3 separate regions of the Homo sapiens genome follow, and regions 2 and 3 are each linked to region 1. The links are contacts of gene promoters, found by promoter capture Hi-C in blood cells and fetal thymus (Javierre and others, 2016). All regions are on one chromosome and are shown on one strand. The core of a region is centred on a gene start or on the middle of the fragment in contact, and the rest is flanking DNA. Distances in the headings are between cores, read along the strand shown. Region 1 holds the start of MITD1 (microtubule interacting and trafficking domain containing 1). Region 2 overlaps MGAT4A (alpha-1,3-mannosyl-glycoprotein 4-beta-N-acetylglucosaminyltransferase A). Region 3 overlaps INPP4A (inositol polyphosphate-4-phosphatase type I A).

The links. Contacts are between HindIII fragments. The CHiCAGO score rates a contact against its expected background, and 5 or more counts as called.
Region 2: a contact is called between a fragment that was not itself captured here and the fragment with the promoter of MITD1 in region 1, in 6 of 17 cell types (naive CD4 T cells, naive CD8 T cells, fetal thymus and 3 more). The highest score is 6.6, in naive CD4 T cells.
Region 3: a contact is called between a fragment that was not itself captured here and the fragment with the promoter of MITD1 in region 1, in 1 of 17 cell types (naive CD4 T cells). The highest score is 6.9, in naive CD4 T cells.

What each region holds. Positions count from the first base shown.
Region 1 is chr2:99,179,238-99,183,319 of GRCh38, forward strand. MITD1 (microtubule interacting and trafficking domain containing 1) reads right to left here and starts at 1,821. Exons shown (of 7, transcript NM_138798.3): 1 at 1,594-1,821. The coding sequence starts at 1,744. MRPL30 (mitochondrial ribosomal protein L30) reads left to right here and starts at 1,947. Exons shown (of 6, transcript NM_145212.4): 1 at 1,947-2,012. RefSeq lists enhancers at 1,489-1,628, 1,639-1,868, 1,889-1,938 and a silencer at 2,156-2,328. The HindIII fragment of the contact is 16,860 bases long and covers 1,326-4,082 here.
Region 2 is chr2:98,658,072-98,661,937 of GRCh38, forward strand. It overlaps MGAT4A (alpha-1,3-mannosyl-glycoprotein 4-beta-N-acetylglucosaminyltransferase A), which reads right to left. Exons shown (of 16, transcript NM_012214.3): 6 at 147-193. Among named protein-coding and RNA genes, the nearest start is that of UNC50, 51 kb to the left of the region's middle. The HindIII fragment of the contact is 5,183 bases long and covers 1-3,866 here.
Region 3 is chr2:98,569,047-98,572,630 of GRCh38, forward strand. The region is part of intron 22 of INPP4A (inositol polyphosphate-4-phosphatase type I A); the gene reads left to right. Among named protein-coding and RNA genes, the nearest start is that of COA5, 38 kb to the right of the region's middle. The HindIII fragment of the contact is 4,303 bases long and covers 1-3,584 here.

The DNA.
Region 1 (4,082 bases), core at 571-3,070:
AGCAGTGTTCCACCTGACCAACACAGTACACCATCTCTCTTTTGGGATTCAGTATACCAGAGTCGTTGGGGCCTTGGGCTCCGACTGTGACTCTACCACCTCCTAGTGGCAGAACTTGAAAGCGAACAATACTTTTTATGCTGTAAAACGAGAATACCATCAACTCCTACTTGATAGGGCAATTGGTACGGATGAAACGAGATCATGCTTTTAATGTTTTCTGCAATGCCTGGCACTCAGCACTGAAACGTGATATCTATGCTTATTGCTGTTGTCACTGTCATCATTATCATCAAATAATGCCCCAGGCAAGGTAGAGTTTACAGTTATTTTTTCTTTTTTTTGAGACGGAGTCTTGTTCTATTGGCAGACTGGAGTGCAGTGGCGCGATCTCGGCTCACTGCAACCTCCGCCTCCCGGATTCAAGCAATTCTCCTGCCTCAGCCTCCCAAGTGGCTGGGACTACAGGTGCGTGCCACCATGCCCGGCTAATTTTTGTATTTTCAGTAGAGACGGGGTTTCACCATGTTGGCCAGGATGGTCTCGATCTCTTGACCTCATGATCCACCTGCCTCGGCCTCCCAAAAAAGTGCTGGGATTACAGGAGTGAGCCACCGCGCCCGGCCGGTAGAGTTTGTAGTTCTGACCAAAGCACCAAACCATAAAGGGCTCCCCTCTGCTGCCCCAAAGCTTCTGTAACACTTTAATTATAAGAAGCTTAAACTAGAAAGAACAGAGGGAGCTTAGTCCAGACCGGGAGTGTCGGGGGTTGGGGAGCAGGAGCTGATCTTATCAATTTAATACATAAATATTGAGTGTCTACTGTGAGCCAGGGTTGTGCTGGGTGTTAAGGAATATTTGGGTATTTCTCAACATTGAATAATACGAAAAGTCTCACTTGTCTCCTCCACAACCCTGCGCATTTCTCACACCGAACCTCATCCGTTTAAGAAAAACTTTTCTTCTTCTACCGCTACATAATTTTACTTTGGCTTGCTTTAAATGCAAATGTTTAAACAGAAAATTAAAAATAATCGTATAATAAACACCCTTATTACCCATCACCGAAATTTTTAAAATTAGCATTTTTGCTCAAATAGAGCTTCGATTTTTAAGAAATTTTTGCTTAAGGAAAATTAACTAAAGACATCATAGCATCTCTTTCTAAAACACTTTGGTCTGCATCTCTAAAAATTAAGGAAAGTTTTGGAAAAAAAATCATATTGCCTAAGAAAATAATTTTAATGCCCCCCAATCTATATTCAAACTTTTCTAATAGATCCAAAAATGTCTTTTAAAGTTCGTACAAACCCAGGTCCTATCAAAGCTTATATATTACATTGCGTTATATCTTATATCTCTTAAGTCTTTTAAAATCTAGACTAGTAGCCTCCCCACCTTTTCTAGGTAACATCAATCTATTAAAGATCTAAAAGAAAGCGGCCCAGTTGTCCTATAGAATATCCCACCTTCTGTATTTAACTGCTTCTTCGTGGTGTGGAAAAATCATTTTTAACTCTTTCACTTCACCCCAGACACAGCAGGAACCAGCTCCTTTTCCTCAGGTCCTCCCCGCCTTGGCTCATTGCTCACCTTTCAGAACCTGCAGGAGCAGATCAATCCCCTCTTGGTAACACACCAGAGCCTGCGGATACCGCGACTCCGAATCTAGTTCTACTGCCCGCTTTAGCACAGTGGCTGCAGCTGTGCTCTGCGGGTCCTGCCTCAGCCCGGACTTCGCCATAATTCTGGAAGTTCTCCTCCGCCTCAACCCAGGATGAAGTTGAGCGGGTCTGCTGCGCTTCCGGGAAGTGGTCATGTGATACCCAGGCGCCTGCGCTCTCTTTCTAGGGACTTTCCTGAGTGGGAGGGATTTCGCCGGAACAAAAATGCCTCAGTTTGGAGGTCGCGCTCACTGCGACGGCAGGCTTTGAGTGTAGCACTTGGTAGTTCTTCCTCTGCTCTGCTTCCCTTCGGAGGAAAATTTCAGGCTGAAGGTTTAGCGGGTGCCGGTGAGTGGGGAATGAGTGGCGGAGAGTGCGGCATTCTTCGCAAGGTGTATCCGGGAACCCTCTGCAGATCCTAATTGATTTTCCCTATTGCGTACTGAATTGGCCGGTTACGGCAACCTAAATGGGTCTGCCCCTGATCCCGTCACATTGGCTCCCGTAAGGCCATTGGCCTGCAGGATCCCCCCGTTTCCCAATTTGCAGGATCCAGGGCCACGCGGCTTTTTGTGCCCAGACTCTTGGAGCTCAAGAACGGAGCCGCCGAGGCTGGACAGCTTGGGAAAGGGAACCCAAGCAGCATTTTCTGTGCTGCTGCTTTATTCATAACTTAGGGTTGCCACTGGGTATTAAGGTTGCTTTTTTTTTTTTTTAATGAAGACAGAAAATTGCCTTTATCTTTGTATTGCTTCATTTTATAATGCAAACATCCAAGAGTTGGCAGTTAGAATATTTGCCATTTTATTAAAACTGTGATTTGTTACCATTTTGATCGAGACCTACCAAAAGCTGTTTGTTCTGCCCTTTTTGCCAAGAGGCAGTAATGAGGGCTGCCTACTGCTTGTTAGGCACTAGGAGTTCAGAGAAGAGACACGCTTCCAGCTTTCAGAGATCTCTGGTATCTCTGCAAGAGTGATTCCATGTTTTGCATTTCAGAAGTGTTTTTCCCCCTTTAATAATTGTATACATTGTCGGTTTAGAAAAAGAAATCGATTTTTAACATTCCTGTTGCATGCATGCTCATTGTAAAAAGACAAAAGAACTATCGGTCGCTGGGGGGGAGAAGGGGGAGGAAAAACGCCTTTTTTCATACCCCCAGGGGTATGTTAACGTTTTTCTGACAACCTTCCAGAGTTTTTCTGTGATTACACACGTTCACAGACATTTAAAAAAATAGAAATGGGATCATACTTCTCCTGTGATGCCTGATATTTTCCTGTTTTACAGAAGACAGCGTAATTGTTTCAGGGTCCAGGAGTTACGTGCCTAATTATTAACAGTAACTTTTACTTTATTAAAACGTATTCCTTGCCGGGCGTGGTGGCTCACGCCTGTAATCTCAGCACTTTCGGAGGCCGAGGCGGGAGGATCACGAGGTCAGGAGATCGAGACCATCCTGGCTAACACGGTGAAACCCCGTCTCTACTAAAAATACAAAAAATTAGCCGGGCGTCCGGGCGGGCGCCTGTAGTCCCAGCTACTGGGGAGGCCGAGGCAGGAGAATGGCGTGAACCCGGGAGGCGGAGCTTGCAGTGAACCCAGATCGTGCCACTGCACTCCAGCCTGGGCGACAGAGCGAGACTCCGTCTCAAAAAAATAAATAAGATAAAATAAACGTATTCTTTGAGTCAAACGTGGTGACACACACCTAGCTCCAATTACTGGGAAAATTGAGGATTGCTTGAGGCTGAGTTCAATACCAGAAACATAGCGAGACTCTGTCTCTAAAAACTTGTAACTTTTGACTATCACACCTTCAGAAGTCTGTAAATATTTAAACTTCAGTTATTCTGCAAAAATATATTATATGTCTGCTATAGGGCAGATACCGCTTTACACAGATGTTTGGGATACTTCTATGAATATAACAGACCCAAAACAACAAAATCTAAAAACCCTTTTCCTATGGAATTAGCGTGCTATTGAATGTACATGCACTAAACAACAAAACCTAACAGATAATTAAGTTACGTTAGAAGATAAGCACGATAGAAAGCAGTGAAGAGGAATTGGGAGTGTTGACAGTTGGGGTATGGGTGAAAATGTTAAATGATGTGATCTGGGTTGACCTCATTGAAAAGGTGAGATTTGACCCAAAAATTGAAAAAGATAAGGAAATTAGCCATGTAAATATCAGGATCATTCCAGGAGAGGGAATGGTCAGTCAAAGGGAGCATGCCTGCTTGACTAGTTCTAGATCAAACAAGGGGGGCAGCATGTCTGGTGATTGAGCAAGAGAGTAATTGGAGATGGAGTCCTGGAGGTGGGGAAGGTTGGTAGTGCTGTACTACAAAGACATGAGAGGGTGAGGGTTAAGAATTAGAGTTGGGGGTGGTGGCCCATGCTTGTAACCCC
Region 2 (3,866 bases), core at 1,015-3,514, 520 kb before region 1:
ATATCAAATACCAATCAGAGGTGATCTAATAAACAATGAACTCCACAGAGAAATGAACTATCAAGGAAGGCATTTTCTTTTAGCAAGAAACCCAAGAGATAATAGTAACCAAAATATTTGTATGTTTATAATTAAGAAGAACTTACTCTTTCTCCAGGTTGGCTACAACACCATGTACATAATCAATATCTGTCTGGGAAAGAAAAAAAATGTATCTATATTCAAGTTTTTATATTTTTATTTAACTGTTAATACTGAACTCGAAATTAAATGAATGATAAAAACATTCATTAAAACCATACATTAAATTTTTAGACAATTTATTAAATTTGCATTTCTGTATTGTTCTATTGTACTACTGAATGTCACTGAGCACTTGCTAATAAGCAGATATTGAAGTTTTTATTATTTTAATTGTCTGTGTTGCATTCACTAGGAAAACTGAACACAAAAACTACTTCTATCAAAACATCCAAACTATTGTGAATAGCATTAGTGACAGATGCTGCACGATATGAAGAAAGATTTTTCTACTTGGAATCATAAAACCTAGGTTCAAGGTTTGCCTCTGTAGCTACTGAACTGCATACTCTAAAGTCATTTCTCTGAGTTTCAACCTATTCTATGAAAAAAAGGAAATACCTTACAGATTATGAGATTAAATGATAAAACTATGTAATAAAAAACTGCTATTATTACACCATATTAATATTACACTGACACTGAGAACTGAATCAAGAGCACTTCAATCAGTTAGAAATAAACATTTATCAGATCTGCATATTTTTAAATTATGAACAAGTCAAAATTCTAATACTTCTTATTAATTTTTCTTTATTTTCTTTATTGATTTAATGAATCACATATTCACATTTCACAAACATTTACTGAATGCCTACTCTAGGCCAGGCTGCACTGCAGTGAACAAGTCTAAGCATGGCAGGCATGTTTTAAACAGACATTTTCAACCAAGTTCAGATCTAACCCAGCATGGAGGGTAGAAGCATCAGAAGAGGATGCCTGGAAGAGGTGACGTTCAACAGTAAGAATTGGCTTGTTCCAGGGCTCTGGCTCCCAGGGGTCTAACAGAGATAAACATCATTAGCTTTTCTCCTCTAAGAGGTAAACGGAGTCTGTCTCTGATGCTATGTCAAAGACCGTGAAATTGGGTCAAAGTGAAACCACTTTCTAGGCTAGCTGTAAGGACTGACAAACAGGGTGGAGCACAGGTGATGGGCAAATGTAAATAATTATGAGCATTATTTCTCCGGTGTGTGTGTCCAGACATCATCCTCCTCCTAACTCCAGATCCTTGCCCCTTCAAGGACCCCAGGAAGCCCAAGGGACAACCAGGCCAGGGACATGGCAGGCTGGGTTACAGGGCCATAGCCACATTTTTGAGCCAGCCAGAGCCCTATTGATATGGTTTGGCGTGTCCCCACCCAAGTCTCATCTCGAATTGTAGCTCCCATAATTCCCATGTGTTCTGGGAGGGACCCTGTGGAGATAACTGAATCATGGGGGCAGTTTCCCCCATACTGTTCTTGTGATAGTGAATAAGGCTTATAAGATCTCATGGTTTTATAAGGGGTTTCCCCCTTTCACTTGATTCTCATTTTCTCTCTTGTCTGTTGCCATGTAAGACATGCCTTTCGCCTTCTGCCATGATTGTGAGGCCTTTCCAGCCATGTGGAACTGTGAGTCCATTTTTCTTTATAAATTACCCAGTCTTGGGTATGTCTTTATCAGCAGCATAAAAATGGACTAATACACCTACCTATCAATTTTAAATACAGCGATAACTTATAAAAATGCTCAATTGTTAAAAGACTCAATGATATATAAAATATAATCTATGTTATAAAGACTGTCAAAGCACTTAATACTTGAGAAAAACAAACAAAAAAGGTATAGCTTAATCCTGGAAATTGCAAAACCATCAAATTATAAAAAGTTTTTATAACAGGCTTTCTGGAAAACAATATACAAACATCGGTAGCATTTCTACATACTAACAATGAACTATCTGAAAAAGAAATCAAGAGAACAATCCCATTTAAAATAGCTACCAAAAAAATACTTAGGAAAAAATTTAACCAAGGAAGTGAAAGAACTAGACACCAAAAATTATAAAATGTTGATGAAATAATTTGAAGAACACACAAATAAATAGATATCTTTGCTCATGGATTGGAAGAATTAATATCATTTAAATGTCCATATTACCCAAAGTGATCTACAGATTCAATGTAATCCCTATCAAAAAATTTAATGACATTTTTCTCAGAAATGGGAAAAAAATCCTAAAATTCATATATAACCACACACACACACACACACGCACGCGCACACACACACACACACACACACACACACACACACACACAACAAATAGCCAAGGTAATCATGAGGAAAAACAATAAAGCTGGAGGCAACACACTTTATTATTTCAAACTATACTATGAAGCTATAATAATGTAAACAGTATGGTATTGATTTTTAAAAAACAGACACACTGGCCAATGGAACAGAATATAGAGCCTAGAAATGAACTCATGTATGTATGGTCAATTGATTTTCAGCAAAGGTGCCAAGAACACTCAATGAAAAAAGTTTCTTTAGTAAATGGTGCTGAGAAAACTGGATATCCACATACAGATGAATGAAAGTGGAACTTCAACTCACGTGAAATATACAAATAAACTCAAAATGGATTGAAAACAAAAGAAGACTCTAAAACTACCAGAAGAAAACATAAGGGAAAAACTACACGACATTGGCCTGGGCAATGGTTTTTTGGATATGACCCCAAAAGCTCAGGCAACAAGAACAAAAATAGACAAATAGGATCACATCTAACTAAAACTCTTCTACATGGCAAAGGAAATAATTAACAGCATGCCTGACAACCTATGGGTTAGGAGAAAATATCTGCATGCTGCACATCTGATAAACAGTTAATATCCAAAATATATAAGGAACTCAAACAGCTCAAGAGTAAGAAAAAACACTGAAAAAATAGGCAAAGGACCTGAACAGACATTTCCCAAAAGATGACATACAAATGGCCAACAGATATACGAAAAATCCTCAACACTGCTAATCATTAGGGAAATGCAAATTAAAACCACAATCAGATATCATCACATCTGTCAGGATGGCTAACTGTCAAAAAGACAAAAGATAACAAGTATTAGGAAGAATGTGGAGAAAAGAAACGGATGGATATATACACTGTATCCATACTGGATACATACATGGATCCACTGTATCCATATTATCAAGCTCTGAGTATAGGTTGGTAAATAAAGAAGATCTCTGTTTGTAGAACTTAAAACTGGTGAGAGAAGCAGTTCATAAGCAAACAAACAAAAATATGTACACATATGTATGTGTATATATAACTGAATATTGTGTTATAAAAATAGAATGCAATAATAGAGGAAAAACAGAGATGGCCTACTTAAACATTACATTCAGAGAAAATCTCTCTGAAGACTTGACATTTAAGCCTAAATTTGATACATATTTCTATTCAAATGTACAAAACTAAACAGAAAACATTAAAAGGGCTATTTTAAGTTCATTAATTGGAGCTTTGTCCTTAATAGCATGTTGATGCTATAGCAATGGTTCTCATTTTTTATTAGAACCCATTTAGTTAAAAACATGTTCATAATTTACCCATCTCTGATCACCTCCATGAACAGTCTCCCAGTCCAAGCCTCACCTCGATTATGGCAACAGCTTTCTAAGTAGTCTCCTTTCTTTTGCCCTTACCAAAGCAGACAGCAGGATCCTTTTTAAAAAGGCAAGTCATATTATTCTTGCCAAAAATGCATAGTCAAAATATAATCATGAGAAAA
Region 3 (3,584 bases), core at 684-3,183, 610 kb before region 1:
AGGAAGATGCGGGGCCAACATTGCTGGGTGTTTGGGAGCAAGGTGGCCCCATCTCGGCATCTCCTGGAGGCAGTGGAGATGGTGACAGTAATCTCTCTGCGTGTCCTGCAGTGAAGATGCTGCAGCTAGGGCTCTGCAGCCACAGAACTAAGGGAGGAACCGAGAGCTGCACAGCACTGTCTACGAGAATTCCCTCTTGAGTTCAACCCAGTGAATATTCCCTGAGGACCTGCTGTGTGTAAAGTGCTAGAGGATCCGATGGCGAATGAGGGGTGGACCCTACCTTGGAGGGAAAGCTGGTCCCAGAGTGCCGGCCTCTCTGTGCAGGCGCTGCCACAGCCACTAGGGGGCGCCACGCGTCAGAAGGTATCATCCCCTCTGTGTTACACTAGTGTCCTCTGATGGGGGTTTCCAAAGAGGGAACCCACATCGGCTGGGCTTTGCATTGGGCAGGCTTCATCTGCATCCTGTTGGACGGTACGGTAGACCTTAGAGTTTAGAGATAGTCAAACAGTACTGCTGGTGAACCTTCACAGGTCACGGATGTGCCAGACACTGGGCTGGGCTCTACATACGTTTCCACGCTGAATCCACAACAGCCCTATGGGTCGGTGATAGGATCCATGTCCAGATGAAGAAAGGGGTGCCTGGCTCTGAAGCCCATGTGCTTGGATTGTGGCTGAAGCCGTCCTGCTAGGAGAGAGTGATGCAGAACACTCCGGGGCTGGGCCAAGAAGTCGTGGCTTCAGCAGGGAAGCAGTGGGAAAAAAGACGCCTCTTCACAGGTTCATCTAGCAAGAGTGTGCGGTTGGATTGGAAGAGGGGAGGCAAGCCGCTGATGGCCAGAGTGAGGCTGTGACACTTCAGATGAGATGTTGTTTCACTCTGACTCCAGCCTGGTAGTGACAGTGAGCGTGGAGAGAGGGATGAGGCGTTAGGGGGGTTTGGGCTGAGGATGCACTCCTCAGCGGCCACGTGCAGCTGGCGCTGGGGAGGTGAGGGCTGTGTCTGCTGGGAGAGCTGACAGACCTGGCTCTGGGCAAGGACGCTGGAGTTGCCGGCAACAGCTGGGGCCGTCCCGCTGATGAGAGAGGCGCAGGGCTACAGGGGACCGACAGCGAGTGCAGCACTGGCCCCAGCTGAGCTGATGACATGGGCAAATGACTTGTGGGGAGTGCAGATGTGGAGCCACAGAGCAGAGCCCTTTGGTGGTTGAGGCCACTGAGTGACAAGACGAGAAGGGGCTGGAACAGCATCTGGAGGGGCCCCTGCTCTGGGGGACAGCGAGGAAGAAGGGACTCAACAGAAGGCGAGAGAGAGCATCACAGGCTAGCAGGAAGAAGGCAGGAGCCAGGAGGGTGTGGGGCGCTGCCGGACACTGGATGTGTGGACAAGGAGCTGCTGGTGATCTCTCCCATACAGTCTCACTGTGGTGAGGGCTGGGCCAGGGATCAAGGGGTGATGAAATGGTGCTGCCCTGGAATGGACCACTTTGTCCCAAAGACTGTCAGCAACTTGAGGGATGGGGCTGTGGGCAGGTGGGACACACCCTGGAGCTGCAGGGGCCATGGGAGTGCTCAAAGGTCCGAGGGAAGGAGAACACACAGGGCTGGAAGATGCAAGAGGACACCAGAGTCACAGACCAGGCCCTGGAGTGGGCAGGCGGAGGGTGCCCTTGCAGGGAGGGAAGGAGGGAGGAGAGAAGGTAGGGACATGAATGGAGGAAATATGCTCAGGTTGGGCAGCCTCAGTCTCCCCAGTAAAACAGGTGTTCTTGTCCTGCTCAACATGAGAGAGGTGAGCACAGAACCGGGGCCTTGAGGGGAGTGGAGGTGACTGGCAGAGATGCAGTTGGAGCCAGAGAGCCTGGAAAAATACAGATGCCTGGGCCCCACCCCAGAGTGTGGTGGGCAGGACCTGGGCATTAGGGTTTCAGAAACTCCCCAGGTGGTCCCTGTGTGCCACAGCCAGGGTGGTAAACATAGCATGAAGTCAAGGTCCTGCGAGGACTTGGCAGCTGAAGGCCATCAGTGCCATGGACGTCAGAACTGTTAAGAAGGTGTCCTCATGCTCTTTAGCAGGGACCGGAGTTCAAACAGCAGATTTGTCACATGCTCGCCACAAGCTGGGCCCCCTACTATCCACTTTATGTGGATTCTCTAATCTGATCCCCACAGCAGCCCTGGGAAATGGGCACCGGTTTCACACCCACTTGGCAGGTGAGGAAACTGAGGCATGGAGGGCAAGTCTCCCCAGGAGCTGGGCCAAGCCCAGGCAGCATCTTCTGACTGCTGTAGGGGAGAGGATGGGCCCACCGGCAGGGCCAGCCAAGGAGCCACGAAGGTGAGCAGGGAGGGAGTAGGGGGCGCGTGCTGAGGCCTGGAGGAGTGGGAGTGGTGAGCGGCTGCAGTAAGTAGGAAGGGGGAATTTGTGCCTAGCACCTTAGAGGGCAGGCAGTCTCCAGGGCTCGGGGAGCTGTTACAATGGGCAGTGAAGGCCCAGGATGGGCGAGGCCTCCGGAAGCAGAGCAGCCAGGCTGGACCACGCAGGCAGGAACTAGTCGACTGGACCATGACCCAGGAAGCTGGGGCAGATGTGAGCCAGGTACCCCTCCCCTCAGCAGGATGGCTGGTCTCTGAGGCTGAGGAGATGGAGCCCACCAGCTGAATACCCCCAAACTTTGTGTGGTTCCTCAGTGGACAGGTATTCATTAAAGCAGGGGCTGCAGGGGCAACCAGCGAGAAGCCAAAGTGCATCTTGGGAGGTGAGATGGTGCTGTCTATGCCAGAGGGCAAATATCCTGACCTGGCTAAGCTCCCCTCCTCTGGGCTCCCACAGCTTCCGTCTCAGCTGATGCCACCTTTCCATCTTTCTGTCTCTGCCCTGTCCCCTGACCGGCGTGGTGTGGAGCACTCAGCAGCAACGTGAAGTAATTAGCACAGGACCTGTGTACGCCAGGGCGAGGCTGTGTGGTGGAAACCAGGTGTGCAGTTAGATCCCAAGTGCTGCCATGTACTTGGTTTGGCTTCGGGGATTCCGGCGCTGTGGCTGTTTTCCTTAGCCATGACCTTGAGGCTCTTCTCTTTGTCTCTGATAATCCCAGTGTTTGAAAATCCCAGAGTACCTTTCCAGGAGTGGTTGATTTTTCCTCAGTTTTGTCTGGGGTTTCTTGGTAAGGTGACCTGATGGATCTTCAGGCCCAAGGGGTCCTGGAAGGGCCTAGAGACTGCCAGAGTGGAGGAGGAGCTGTTAGGATGTGGGAGCAGGGGCTTCTCTGGGTCCCGCAGAGATGTGTTCTCCTGGCATGGGCCAAGGGCCCCCTGGAGGAGGCTGCACTTTCCTGATCCCTCCCAAGGTTTCCAGGCCTGCTCAATGGCTCAGACCCACTGCCCCAGTTTCTTCTACCCTCGGGAAGTTTTGACGACCAGCTGGATCCCTCTCACTCCCTCCTAACTCCCTCATCTGGGAGGGGTGCGGGAGGCATGGGTATTTACAAGGAGTCCTGTAGGTGATTCGGTGGCCATTCCCAGCCCCTCAGAAGAACTGAAGGGAGATGAAGGAAATGTCCTTTGAAGGTGGCAGTA